Linked DNA regions of Homo sapiens: all the other regions are linked to region 1. The links are contacts of gene promoters, found by promoter capture Hi-C in blood cells and fetal thymus (Javierre and others, 2016). All regions are on one chromosome and are shown on one strand. Each heading gives the region's core, a stretch centred on a gene start or on the middle of the fragment in contact. The rest is flanking DNA. Distances are from core to core; before and after follow the strand shown.

Region 1 (4,106 bases), core at 733-3,232:
GTAGGTTATGGAAAATTAAAGTCAAAGGGGTTCTCTGGGAGGCAGGGGCGAGGGTCACAAGGTGCTCAGTCGGGAGCTTCTGAGCCAGGAGAAGGAATTTCACAAGGTAATGTCATCAGTTAAGGCAGGAACAGGCCATTTTCACTTCTTTTGTGATTCTTCAGTTGCTTCAGGCCATCTGGATGTATATGTGCAGGTCACAGGGGTTATGATGGCTTAGCTTGGGCTCAGAGGCCTGGCAATCACACCCAGCTAAGTTTTGTTTTTTTAGTACAGATGGGGTTTCTCCATATTGGCCAGGCTAGTCTCAAACTCTTGACTTCAGGTGATCCACCCGCCTCAGCCTCCCAAAGTGCTGGGATTACAGGTGTGAGCCCCCACGCCCGGCCTAGCACAATATCAATATATTCCTCATAACAATGTTAGAAAGGGAAAGTTCTCTTATTAGCACCTTCTGGACTCAGATGAAGAAACTGAGTCCAGAACAGGTTAAGTAATTTATCCAAGTTAACTGGCTAATGAGGGGCAAAGCAGAATGAAACCTGGGTAGAATGAGCCCAGAGCCCATGCCTGTCCACATTCCGCCCTATGCTTCTTGAGCTAGGGGCCAGCTCTGTGTTCAGGGCATTGCCTGCTGCACACTGGCTACTCAGTGTATGCTTGTTGGTGGAATGAAAGGCAAGAAATATTTATTCATCATTTATTATATGCCGGGCACTGTTGCCTGCTTTTATAAATATTACCTGATATAATTCTCACAGACAACCCAAGGAGTTAATATCAATCAGCCCACTTTGCAGATAAGAACTCCAAAGTGGGACACATTGCCAGTAAATGGTAGAGCCAGCTCTGGGTCATGGTGGGTGGGCCTGCCTCAGACCTTCTCAGTTCTTTCCCACTGCCTTTAAGAGATTTTTTGTTTTGTTTTGTTTTGTTTTGTTTCTGTATGAGTCTCCCCGGCTTCCCTCACCCTTCTCCCAAGAAAAAGAAAGAAGGGGAGAGAACTGGAGAGAGAGACCAGGTAGGGGACGGGGACTGGGGGACGAGATAGGATGGAGAGAGTCACAAAGAACCCCTGCTTTCTATCAAAGCACGGACAGTGGTTCCAGGCGCCCAGCAGATGGCAGGATGTAGCCAAAGATTCCCTGCAGTCCCGGAGAGCTGGGCCCGCAGGACTGCAAGGCAGGGGGACCTGCCTGTCCCTCAGGGAGCGTCCTGGGAACCCGCGCTCGCCCCACACGTCTTGGGGCGCATCTGCCGCACCCCTTACTTAGGCACCCGCAACTGTGGCGCGTATCTCCCGATCCAGGCTCCCGCCGCAGGAGCCCAGGGACCCTCATGCTAGCCTCGCCCCTAAATCGGACGCCGATGCCGCCCAATTTTGGGGGAATCCCGAGACTCATGCCCAGCCATTCCCAGGGAGAATGGTTTGGGGCAAACTATGGCTGTCTGGGGCCTCAGTTTCCCCATGTACAATGAAGGGGTCAGATTAGTATCTAATCTTAAGGGGTCAGAAAGTAAACAGATACTTTCATTCATTAAACACTGAGAAAAACCTTAAGAGGAACAGCGTCGGTTGGAGAGCCAGCAGACACTCCACTGCCCATCCCAATATGAATGGGCAAATACAGGCTAGCGGGGAGTCCTGGGACTCCCTTCGCAGCCGGGGCCGACTAACCACAGACCTAAGAGCCCCTCTACCTCTAGACCTCCGTCTACTGCGCTCTAAAATATGAACGATGCTTTCTTACTGCTGGGTTGTCGGAGGCGGATGTGGGATGGTGCTAACAAAGCGCGTAGCCGAGGCCTGGCCATAGTGGGTGCTGACAAACCGCTTACTGCCTGCAGGGACCGAGCTCCCGGCCGAGGGAGGAGGGCCGAGCAGGGATTCAGATTCTTCCGGGCCGATCCCTTTCTCAGCTCCTTCCGCCCTGCCGCCGCCCACTGCGTGCTGCCTTCGTCCGTCCCCTCCTCCCCCGCTCCTTCCCCTCCTTCCCCTGCTCCCGCGCCGCCTCGCGTCTCCCGCCCGCTGTAGCCGGCGAGGAGCGCCGCACGTTGGCCCCGGCGCGAGGAGCTCCCGGGTTCCCGGGCGGGCACTGGAGTAAGGAGCTGCGAGCGCAGCCCGAGGCGGGGCACGGCGGAAGGCGCGGCGAGAGCGGGGTCCCTGCGAGCGCAGTCGGAAGGGCGTCCAGGAGAAGGGGGACGCCGTCCCCGCCCCTGCACGGTGCTCGGCCCCCTCGGGCTCCGCGCGCGGCTACAACCCGGACTGGGCGCGCCCCCGGCATCCCGCATCTCTGCGCGCGTCCCACATCCCGCATCCGGCATCCCAGCGGCCGGGCATGTAGCAGCGGCAGCAACGGCGGAATATGGGCGGGAACCACTCCCACAAGCCCCCCGTGTTTGACGAGAATGAGGAAGGTAAGAGAGCGAGAGGTGCGAATTCCCGCTTCGCGGGGCATCCCCTTCCTCCACCACCCTCGGCCGAGCCCTGCGGGGCACCGCATGCTGCCCGGCGCGGGGACCCAGGCATGGCCACTTCGCCCAGCGAATGCAGTGTGTGCCCGACCCGTGCCAGGCGCGGCGCTTCTGCTGAGGCAACTCCTAGGTACCCAGTGCCGTTTAGTAGTCGGGACGGTGCCTAGCGCGGGACTGGGGAGGCGGCTTCAGAGAGTTGAACCCGAAACCTGCACTTGGGGGTGTGGAAGGGAGGAGTTGACTTCGGAGGCCAGTCGGGATGGTTCTAGGCTCGGGCTCCCCAGGAAACCGAGGTTTCCTTGAGAGCCTGAGGCTGACGGAGGTGGCCTGGAAGGGCGGGTTGCACCGTGTGTCTGTGTGTGTGTGCGCGTGCCCACGACGCATTTGGTCTCGTGCAAGGGCCTGTTGGATGCAGCTCTCCTCAATCACCCAGGACAGAGGGAAACTTTTCTTTGCTAAACTCTGTGGTTCCTAGGAGGGCGTCCTGTTCTGGGCAGCCTCCCCCTGGCGCAGAAGTGGTGTAGGCTGTCCAACCGCATCTCAACTTCCTGGCTGGATCCTTGCGGTTCAGGTCGATAGAGCTCCCTATTTGGACTAGCAGAACCCTCTTTCCAGTGCAGCGTGTCCCTGGAAAACTTACTTCACCTCTCTGAAACATTAGTCCCTTCATCAATGAAATGTGAGTTATGATACCACTAGCTACTTTATAGGGTTGTTTGAAGCTTAACCACTAGTAATCCACGTGAAAAGTGCCTTATAAATGCAAGCAGTACCGAGCTGTGCCGTTTTTTATGTTAAGAGCCCTCTGCCTCTCAAAGCTGGTTTCCTACTGTGCTGACTCGCCAGTCTCCACTGTGCCCCAGGTAAGAGCTGAGACATACTGAGCACTTACTATGTTCCAGCCATGCTAGCACATAGTGTTCACTCCATCCTTTTCATGCCCCTTGAGGTGGCTACCTTAGAAAGGGGTCTGTCCTGGTTACTGCTGGTAAGAAGTAGAGCTGGGCTTGAGGCAGGACAGTCTGCTTTGAAAGCTGTGCCTGTCATCATTACCCAGGGCACTGGCTGTGTGCGTACATCATGGATGGCTTCTAGAACTCCCAAGGCTGTGAGTGCTACTCAGATGCCTGCCTGGACAGCCCTTCTCAAAAAGATAGATGAACACAGTCAAGGTTAAGTGAGCACCTGCTGTGTCAGGCCCACGAGAGCCTTCCTTAAAGGAGTTCCTAGTCTAATGGCCCTGAATGACCGTCCATGGTGATAAGGGCATTGAGAAACCAGTGCAGGGTCTTGGGGGCACAGAGAGGCCCCAGCTTTTCCTGATCTTTAGTCTGGAGCATGTGCAGGTGAGCAGGTAAGGAGCCAGTTGTGGACAGAGGAGAGGTGGGCACAGAGGTAATGGAGGCTCTTGCATGTCCCAGTAAGAGTTTGAACACTATGCAGCATCACCCTCAATTGCACGGGCTTGTGGTTCTAGCCTGGGTCAAAGGTCATGCTTTTGCTAATTTTCCTAGCATCTTTCTCTTTTATTTACAGAGGAAATTTGCCACCCTTATATTGAAAACCGTCTCTGTCATTTATCCCCAGCTTGAAAATATTCATTGGCAAAATAGTTATCTCTGGTGTAGCCA
Region 2 (4,106 bases), core at 534-3,033, 630 kb after region 1:
CCCAGTGAAAATTCTGGCACTGAGTCTCTAAGGAGCCTCCCTGGTAGATAATACTTCACATGTGTTAGCACAACTCATGCTGGGGAGATGAAGCATCCCCTCTGTGACTGCTGGGAGAGGACTCTTAAAACTTGCAAGTGATTTTCTCCAAACTTCTCCTCATGCAACTTTTCCCTGGGCTGATTTTGCTTTGTATCTTTTCATTGTAGTAAGTCATAGCAGTGGGTACAACTACAGGCATGCATCACCTAACAAGGAAGAGATGTTCCTAGAAATGCATTGTTAGGCAAATTCCTAATTGTGCAAACACCACAGAGTGACTTACACCAACCTAGATGATCTAGCCTACTACACACCTAAGCTCTACGGTATAGTCTATTCCTCCTGGCTACAAACCTGTACAGCATGTTACTGTACTGAATACTGTAGGTAACTGTAACACGTACTAAGTATTTGTATATATAAACAGATCCAAGTATGGAAAAGGTACCAAAGCCTGTAATCCCAGCACTTTGGGAGGCCGAGGTGGCCGGATCACTTGAGGTCAGGAGTTCAAGACCAGCCTGGCCAATGTGGTAAAACCCCGTCTCTACTAAAAATATAAAAACTAGCTGGCTGTGGTGGTGGGTGCCTGTAATCCCAGCTACTTGGGAGGCTGAGGCAGGAGAATCGCTTGAATCTGGGAGGCAGAGGTTGCAGTGAGCTGAGAACGTACCACTGCACTCCAGCCTGGGCGACAAAGCAAGACTCTAAGAAAAAAAAGAAAGAAAGAAAAGAAAAATATGTACAAAAGACAAAAAAAAAAATACACTCGTATAGGAAATGTATCATAACTCGAGCTTGCAGGTCTGGAAGTTGCTCTGGGCCAGTCAGTGAGTGAGTGGTGAGTGAATGTGAAGGCGTAGGGTATGACTGTACACGACTATAGACTTTAGAAACACTGTACCCTTAGGCTACACTACATTTATTTATTTATGTTGAGACAGAGTCTCACTCTGTTAACCAGGCTGGAGTGCAGTGGCATGATCTCGGCTCACTGCAACCTCCGCCTCCCAGGTTCAAGCAATTCGCATGTCTCAGTCTCCCGAGTAGCTGGAATCACAGACACGCACCACCATGCTCAGCTAATTTTTTTTGTATTTTTAGTAAAGACCGGTTTAGCCATGTTGGCCAGGCTGATCTTGAACTCCTGGCTTCAAGTGATCAGCCCACCTCAGCCTCCCAAAGTACTGAGATTACAGGCATGAGCCACTATGCCTGGCCACTAAATTTATTTTAAAAATATATGCTGTGCAGGTTTCTTCAGTAATAAGTTAATCTTGGCTTACTGTAATTTTTTATTTTTTATTTTATTTTATTTTACTTTAAGTTCTGGGATACATATGCAGAACGTGCAGGTTTGTTACATAGGTATACATGTGTCATGGTGGTTTGCTGCACCTATCAACCTGTCATCTAGGTTTTAAGCCCCACATGTAATTGCCCTTGCCCCCCATCCCCCGACAGGTCCCAGTGTGTGATGTTCCCCTCCCTGTGACTTTATTACCTTTGTAATTTTTTTTTTAACATTTTGACTCTTTGGTAATAACACAGCTTAAAACACAAACACACTGTACAGCTATACAAAAATAGTTCCTTTCTTTATATCCTTACTCTGTAAGCTTTCTATATTTTTAAGGTATTTTTTTAAAACACTTCTTAAACTTTTTGTTAAAAACTAAGACACACATTAGCCTAGTCCTGCACAGCATCAGGATCATCAATATCACTGCCTTCCACCCCGACACTCTGTCCCACTGGAAGGTCTTCAGAGGCAATAACAGGCATGGACCTGTCATCTCCTAGGATAACAATGCCTTATTCTAGAATCCCTCCTGACGGACCTGCCTGAGGCTGATTTATAGGTAAGCTTATTTCGGATTTGATCAGTGGAAGGGATACACTCTAAAATAACAATAAAAAGTATGTATAGTAAATACGTAAACCAGCAACATAGTCTTTTAGTGTCATTATCAAGTATTATGTTTTGTACATAATGGTATGTGCTAGACTTGTTATGATTGGCAGCACAGTAGGTTTCACACCAGAATCACCAAACAGGTGAGTAAACGCACCATGCTACGATGGATATTACACAACCACATTATCACTAGGTGACAGGAATTTTTCAGCTGCATTGTAATCCTGCGGGACCACCTTCATATATGCAGTCCACTGTTCACCAAAATGTCATTATGTGGCGCGTGACTGTATATGTAAGTCCCGTGAGTCACCCTAGAGAATCACCGAACCCGGGGGTGGGTGTTGGGGACCCTGACATTCTAGCCATGGGATACTGGGCAAATCACTTGACTTTAATGTGCCTCGGTTTCCCCATCTGAAATGGCAGAGATTTTAAAATAGAATCTGTCTCACAAGACTGTGGTAAAGATGACATAATTCCACATAAGTAAATTGCTTAGAATGCTTGGCACCCAGTTTTAAGAAACGTGAAGTGTTGTTACCTGGTGAATTAACACTTGGTGAATACATGAGTGAGTGAACATGTGAGCTGCAAATGATTAAACTGAAGAACAGAAATGGAGAAGTATTATGGTGAAGAGCAGAAGCAGAGAGACCCGCCCCACAGACTGCAGGCTTTGGGAAGATCTGGGAAAACACAATGTCACCAGCAGCTTGACCTAGTGGCAAACACTGGGGATAGGTAGGAGCGTGACTGGACAGTAGCACAGACGGGCTGTGGAGCCTCAGCCTGTCCAGCCCACGGCCTACCTGCCTTGTCCAGGTGGAGGGTCATCCAGGGAAACCAGTCAGATAGCCTCAGGGCACACGGGGGACCCGAGAGACTGCACAGAGTCCCAGTCTCAACGCATAACTGGGGGACCAAGGCCAGCAGCTGGCCGCTCCCCATGGCTCCAAGGACAGGCAGGACCCACACAGCACAGGTGTGTCCTGAGGGTGCTCAGGGCATGTCATGTCTCTTACCGTTACGTTTTCTTCTGCTGTTATGGAAAAAAGCACTTTCAGCTGTGTTCTGTTCTAGAAAAGGAAAAAAGAAAACACTTTCAGCAACAGTTTGGGGTCTGACACGTGGGATAACATTTGGTGCGATTTCCAACCCTCCAAGCCTGGAGCTACAATCAGCCCTAACTGCTGCACAGGTCAGAGCTTGTGAAGGTCTCACCATCAGGAGGAAGGGGCTTTGGGGATAGGATCCCTCCCTCTCTACTGGAGGCCGTGTGAAATCCAAACACCAGCTTCGCTAACATCCAGAGAAAGTCATGGCAGCATGCCCTTGTGGAGAAACGCTTGGGGTTGGGCACTGACTCCAAGCCTGTGACCAAGGCAGGTCACCTCCACTCTCCCAGCGTCTGCCTCCTTCACAGAGGTAGATGGAATCCTGGGCTCTGACTGCACTGCACGTGTTCTTCTCTCACTCAAACGCACTTGATTCTCCAAGCCCCAACCCGCTGTGGGTCTATTCCTAATGCTCTCTAATATTCCTCTGCTGAGAAGATACAGGAAACAGAAAAATAAAGTGTGTCATGGTATCCACCTGTCTAACCGCATGGTGACCGACAAGACCCACCGTGAGAACATACTTCTTCCTGGGGGTAAAGGCAGAATAGCTTGCCACTGACAGGCTGTCTATAGGGTGGTGGTTAGGGCCAGGCTGTCTAAGTTCATACAGGGCCCCACTGCTCACCAGCAGTTGGACCTTGGGCAAGGTATTAGCCTCTCTGTGCCTCTGTTTTCTCATCTGTGAAATGGTAATCATATTCAACTCACAGAATTGCTATGAAGATTAACTTAGGTAATATAGAACCCTGAAGAGTGCCTGGCACTAGGGAATGCTATAAAATATTACTGCTATTGGTGGCTGTAGGTAGTAGTAGTAACATTAGCAGCAGCAGCAGCAGTAGTAGCAATAGCAGGCCGGGGGCGGTGGCTCACACCTGTAATCCCAGCACTTTGGAAGGCCAAGGCAAGTGGATCACCTGAGGTCAGGAGTTCAAGACCAGCCTGGCCAATGTAGTGAAACCCCATCTCTACTAAAAATCAAAAATTAGCTGGGTGTGGTGGCGGGCACCTGTAATTCCAGCTAC
Region 3 (4,106 bases), core at 599-3,098, 610 kb after region 1:
TGCTCGGCACTCCATGCCCCTAGAAGCTTCCAGGACCAGCCAGTCCTGCCCAGTTCCTCCCTCCTCCTGGTCCCAGCATGTGCTGAGACTGAGTCCACCTCCATTATAACCACAGTCAAGGAGCCTGATAAAAATCAAAGGAAATATTCCTTCCTCAAATCCTCTCTGTAAGAGACAGCCTATGAATAAGCAATGTAAAAGATAAACCACCACGCACACCTCGGAAATGCTCTTTGTCAAAAATAACTCGGCAGGATAGAGCAAAGTTACAGCTCTCATGGGGCTTGAAATGAGGGGGCAATCAAGTCACGTAATGGCATATTTCGAATCCCAGCTAAGCTTCATGTTAGAATTACAAATGCGATAACTGATTTGCCAGAGAAAAATGCTATTTTTAGTGGGAAGTGTATCACAGATTTCCATGCATACTAAGCTCCTGCCATTCTGAGTGACATTTTCTTTCTGGGAGCATCTAAGCAGGACCACAGAGCAAGATGGAAAGATTAAAAGTAATTGGCAATGCTATAATTGAAAAAAAAAAAAAAAAGACTGGGTTCTTAAAACTAGTGTCCAACCACAATGCCTGAAACTGAATTGGAGTTCAATAAATATTGAATGTTGGGACGGGAGGGAGGATGGGAGGCTGGGGGAGAGGAAGAGAGGAATGAATTTAGCTCACAAGCTGAACACTCTCCGTGCATGCTTGATAATCAATGCTAAACACTCTTCAGGCAAAATAAGACAAGCTCCCAAGAGAAATGAATATATAATTCCAGAGGTGCAAGAACAAAATCATTATAAACTTCAACATTCCTATTGTACTCAAGCATCAGGACTGGCAAACTGCAGCAGCTGCTTATAATTTCATATAATGTAGGGATAAAGAAAGACTCGGCTTCTTATGCCCCATCACTTTTTGAATAAAAAACAAAAACAGGAGGATTAATACTTTCCTCTTTTAAAGTACTAATTACTTTAGTCAGAAGGTTATAGAGTACCACATACTTGCAAATTAAATATCCGGGTGCTGATTGCATGATCCAAATCATTTCACTCTACTTTTCATTTTCATGTTTTGTAAGAAAACAGACTTTTAGCTCTGAAATCATTTGATAATTAGCTGCTCACATCACTTAATATAATAAGTGACATTTATGAACCTCTGCCAATAACTTCGTCTCCCATTGCTCGTCCATTTCTCCCTACTACTTCAGACAAGGTGGCAAATTTTAATTTGTAATCCTTGCCATTCTGATTAGGGAGTTAAGTGAAAATGAAGAATGGCATCTGGATGGCTGCACAAGGCTTAATTAACCAAGCCACACAACTCTGGCACCCAGAAATGGATTAACAAGCCCTGACTCCCCTCTTGGTGCAAGGTCAGCCCTGCACTTACGAGGCTCCAAGCCTGGCTCTTCACCAGGCACTCTGTGAGGAAGGAGCACCCATTCAAAACAGAGGAGAGTCCCTTTCTTCTGAGAACAGTCATTGAGCTCACAAAGTGGCATGAGTCAGACCTAGCAGAGCTCTTCTCTCAGGCCAGTTAAGTAGTTGCTCCTGAAAAGGATGAGCCAGAGCTGTTTCTGGTTCTACCTAGGATCTACCTCTTTGTGTCACAGGACACCACTTCCTGGACCCAGGGAGATAGGATCAGGAAGCTGCTCAGTTTTGCTTCCCAGATCTCCCATTTTCAGTATGCTTTCAATTCTCTTGAGAAAGACTCAAGGAAGGGCTACTCGCCCTGACCACTTCTCTTTATGGTCTGCTAATCTGACCAGGGCTCACAGGCAGCTATCACCATAAGGATGCATCCCCATCACAAGTCTCTTTCACATCATTACACATGACAGTATCAAAAGGCTCTAGGTTACGGGTTCCCCATTTGAGAGATGAGAAAACTAGGCTCAGAGAATGTCTGTAAAATATAAATGTGCCTGAGCCTAAATAGTGAGGAAGCTCAAGTCCCATTCTTCACTCACCAGATGTATCACTGTGGGTAAACCTCTCAGCCTAGCTGAGCCTCAGCTGCTTCAACTATCAAACACTGAAAATAAGATGCCATACCAAAAAGCAGTACCAAATTAAATAAGGGGCGTGACATGAGCACCAAATTAAATAAGGGGTGTGCACATTTCTAAATGTGACATAAACATAAGGTATTTTATCTGAAAACATAAGGCATTACAGTTTATTGTCATCTTGATGATTCCAAATTCACACAAATTACCCTCCAGTGGGTAGTGAGTGGGCAGAAAGCCACACATCTTTAATCTAGAATAAAAAAAGTTTCCTGTAAATGGAATCCAATTTGAAGGGTTCACATTTGGCCCCATTATTAATCATCAGCAGTCTACCAAGAAAGCAAAGAATGTTAAAATAAAAATCATCAGATATAACCAAATAAGAATTTGATCTGGGAGAAATGAAGCCCAGCTTTGAATGATCTCAATCTCTGACTGGATTAATATAATCCATAATTATGTTGCTAGCCACTTAGAAGAAGATAACATCACCCTCGTCCTCAGATTGTCTTCTCAACTTCCTATACAATGTCTAGCACATAATCAAAAATACACAGAGATATGAGACAAGAAAATATGATCAAAAACTGAGTGGTACTCTAGATAACAGACACAGAACGAGGGTACAGATAATAACGTCTTCAGTCAGACACTTCAAAATAATTTTGTTTGAGAGTAAATAAAAAAATAAGATTGAGATTTTTGGCCAAAACAACGGAAAATTAAAGAAAACATAAAGAAGTCATCTTAAATATCTGATGAAAGGAAAGAAGGAACGACAAGGCCATGCTGATGAACCTCATCTAGTTAAGGTTATCTATTAGACTGTGACCCATGTGTCCATCCAGGAGAAATCTTGGGCAATGATTAAAAGCCTGGACCATGGAGCAGATGACCTGAGTTTAAAACCTGACCCTATCATTTACTAGTATATGCCCTTGGGCAAGTTACTTAACCTCTCTCCAGTTCTCATCCATAAGATGTTACAGAGAGCAATACCTACTTCATGGGCTTGTTAAGAGGATTATACGAGTTAGTTCTGTGAAGTTCTTAAACAGTGTCTGGCACTATCTGCTATTGCACATAGGGAGGATGATGTTAATATTCATTAACTACATAAGAAGAACTGAATTCAGTTCAGTACACACTCACATCACCTGGTCTGGCCTCTCTCCCCTGCTGCCTCTTCTTTATTTTCTATACTCAATACCCCAATCTGCACATCAGCCACACTTGGCTACTGACATCTCACCAAACGCACCTTGCTCCTTTCACGTCCTTACATCTGCCCTTTCTTTCCTCTGTCTGAAAATCGTTTCCACGCTTAATCAACTTGGAAAGCTTCTTCATAAGCTTTCAGAATCAATTCAGATTCTCTCCCTCTTAACTAATGAGTACTAGACTTAATACCTGGATGATGAAATAATCTGTACAACAAACCCCCTGTGACACGAGTTTACCTATATAACAAACCTACACGCATATCCCTAAACTTAAAAGTTAAAAATAAATAAAAAAATTGTTATTAGTTCAATAGTTTATTGAATAAACTAATTATTCAATAATTATTATTAATATAATATTAAATATAATATTAATATTAAATATATTAAATATAATATTAATATTAAATATATTAAATATAATATTAATATTAAATATATTAAATATAATATATATTTATATTAATCATATTTATTTTAATTATATTTAAATATATTTAGATTAATTATATTAAAATATAATATATTAATTATATTTATATTGATATTAAATATAAATATAATATTAAATATAATTATTAAAATAATAATTATTCAATAATTATCCAATAATTATTGAAATAATTAGTTCAATGCCACCTCCTCCAGGAAGCATTTCTGTGACTTTCTCAGAAGTAATTACTTCCTCTTCTGTGCTCTGCCGGCCCTGACCTTCCCATTTGCATGGTGGTCACCCAATTCTGTGGTCACTTCTGTTTATGTTTCAGTCTTTCCTACTAGATCAGACTTCCTTAGAGCAGGAAGTATGTCATCTACACCTCTTTTCCTAGATGCCAAACATTCAGTGCATAGCAGTTGTTGA

The links. The method cuts DNA at HindIII sites, captures the fragments that hold promoters and counts their contacts. A CHiCAGO score of 5 or more calls a contact.
Region 2: a fragment that was not itself captured here is called in contact with the fragment with the promoter of STK32B in region 1 in 1 of 17 cell types (M1 macrophages); the score reaches 5.6 in M1 macrophages.
Region 3: a fragment that was not itself captured here is called in contact with the fragment with the promoter of STK32B in region 1 in 1 of 17 cell types (M2 macrophages); the score reaches 5.2 in M2 macrophages.

Annotation. Positions count from the first base shown.
Region 1 is chr4:5,049,498-5,053,603 of GRCh38, forward strand. STK32B (serine/threonine kinase 32B) reads left to right here and starts at 1,983. Exons shown (of 12, transcript NM_018401.3): 1 at 1,983-2,418. The coding sequence starts at 2,367. RefSeq lists an enhancer at 2,685-3,223. The HindIII fragment of the contact is 3,285 bases long and covers 1-3,195 here.
Region 2 is chr4:5,678,275-5,682,380 of GRCh38, forward strand. It overlaps EVC2 (EvC ciliary complex subunit 2), which reads right to left. Exons shown (of 22, transcript NM_147127.5): 7 at 2,986-3,039. Among named protein-coding and RNA genes, the nearest start is that of EVC2, 28 kb to the right of the region's middle. The HindIII fragment of the contact is 248 bases long and covers 1,660-1,907 here.
Region 3 is chr4:5,658,875-5,662,980 of GRCh38, forward strand. All of the region lies in intron 9 of EVC2 (EvC ciliary complex subunit 2), which reads right to left. Among named protein-coding and RNA genes, the nearest start is that of EVC2, 48 kb to the right of the region's middle. The HindIII fragment of the contact is 3,023 bases long and covers 338-3,360 here.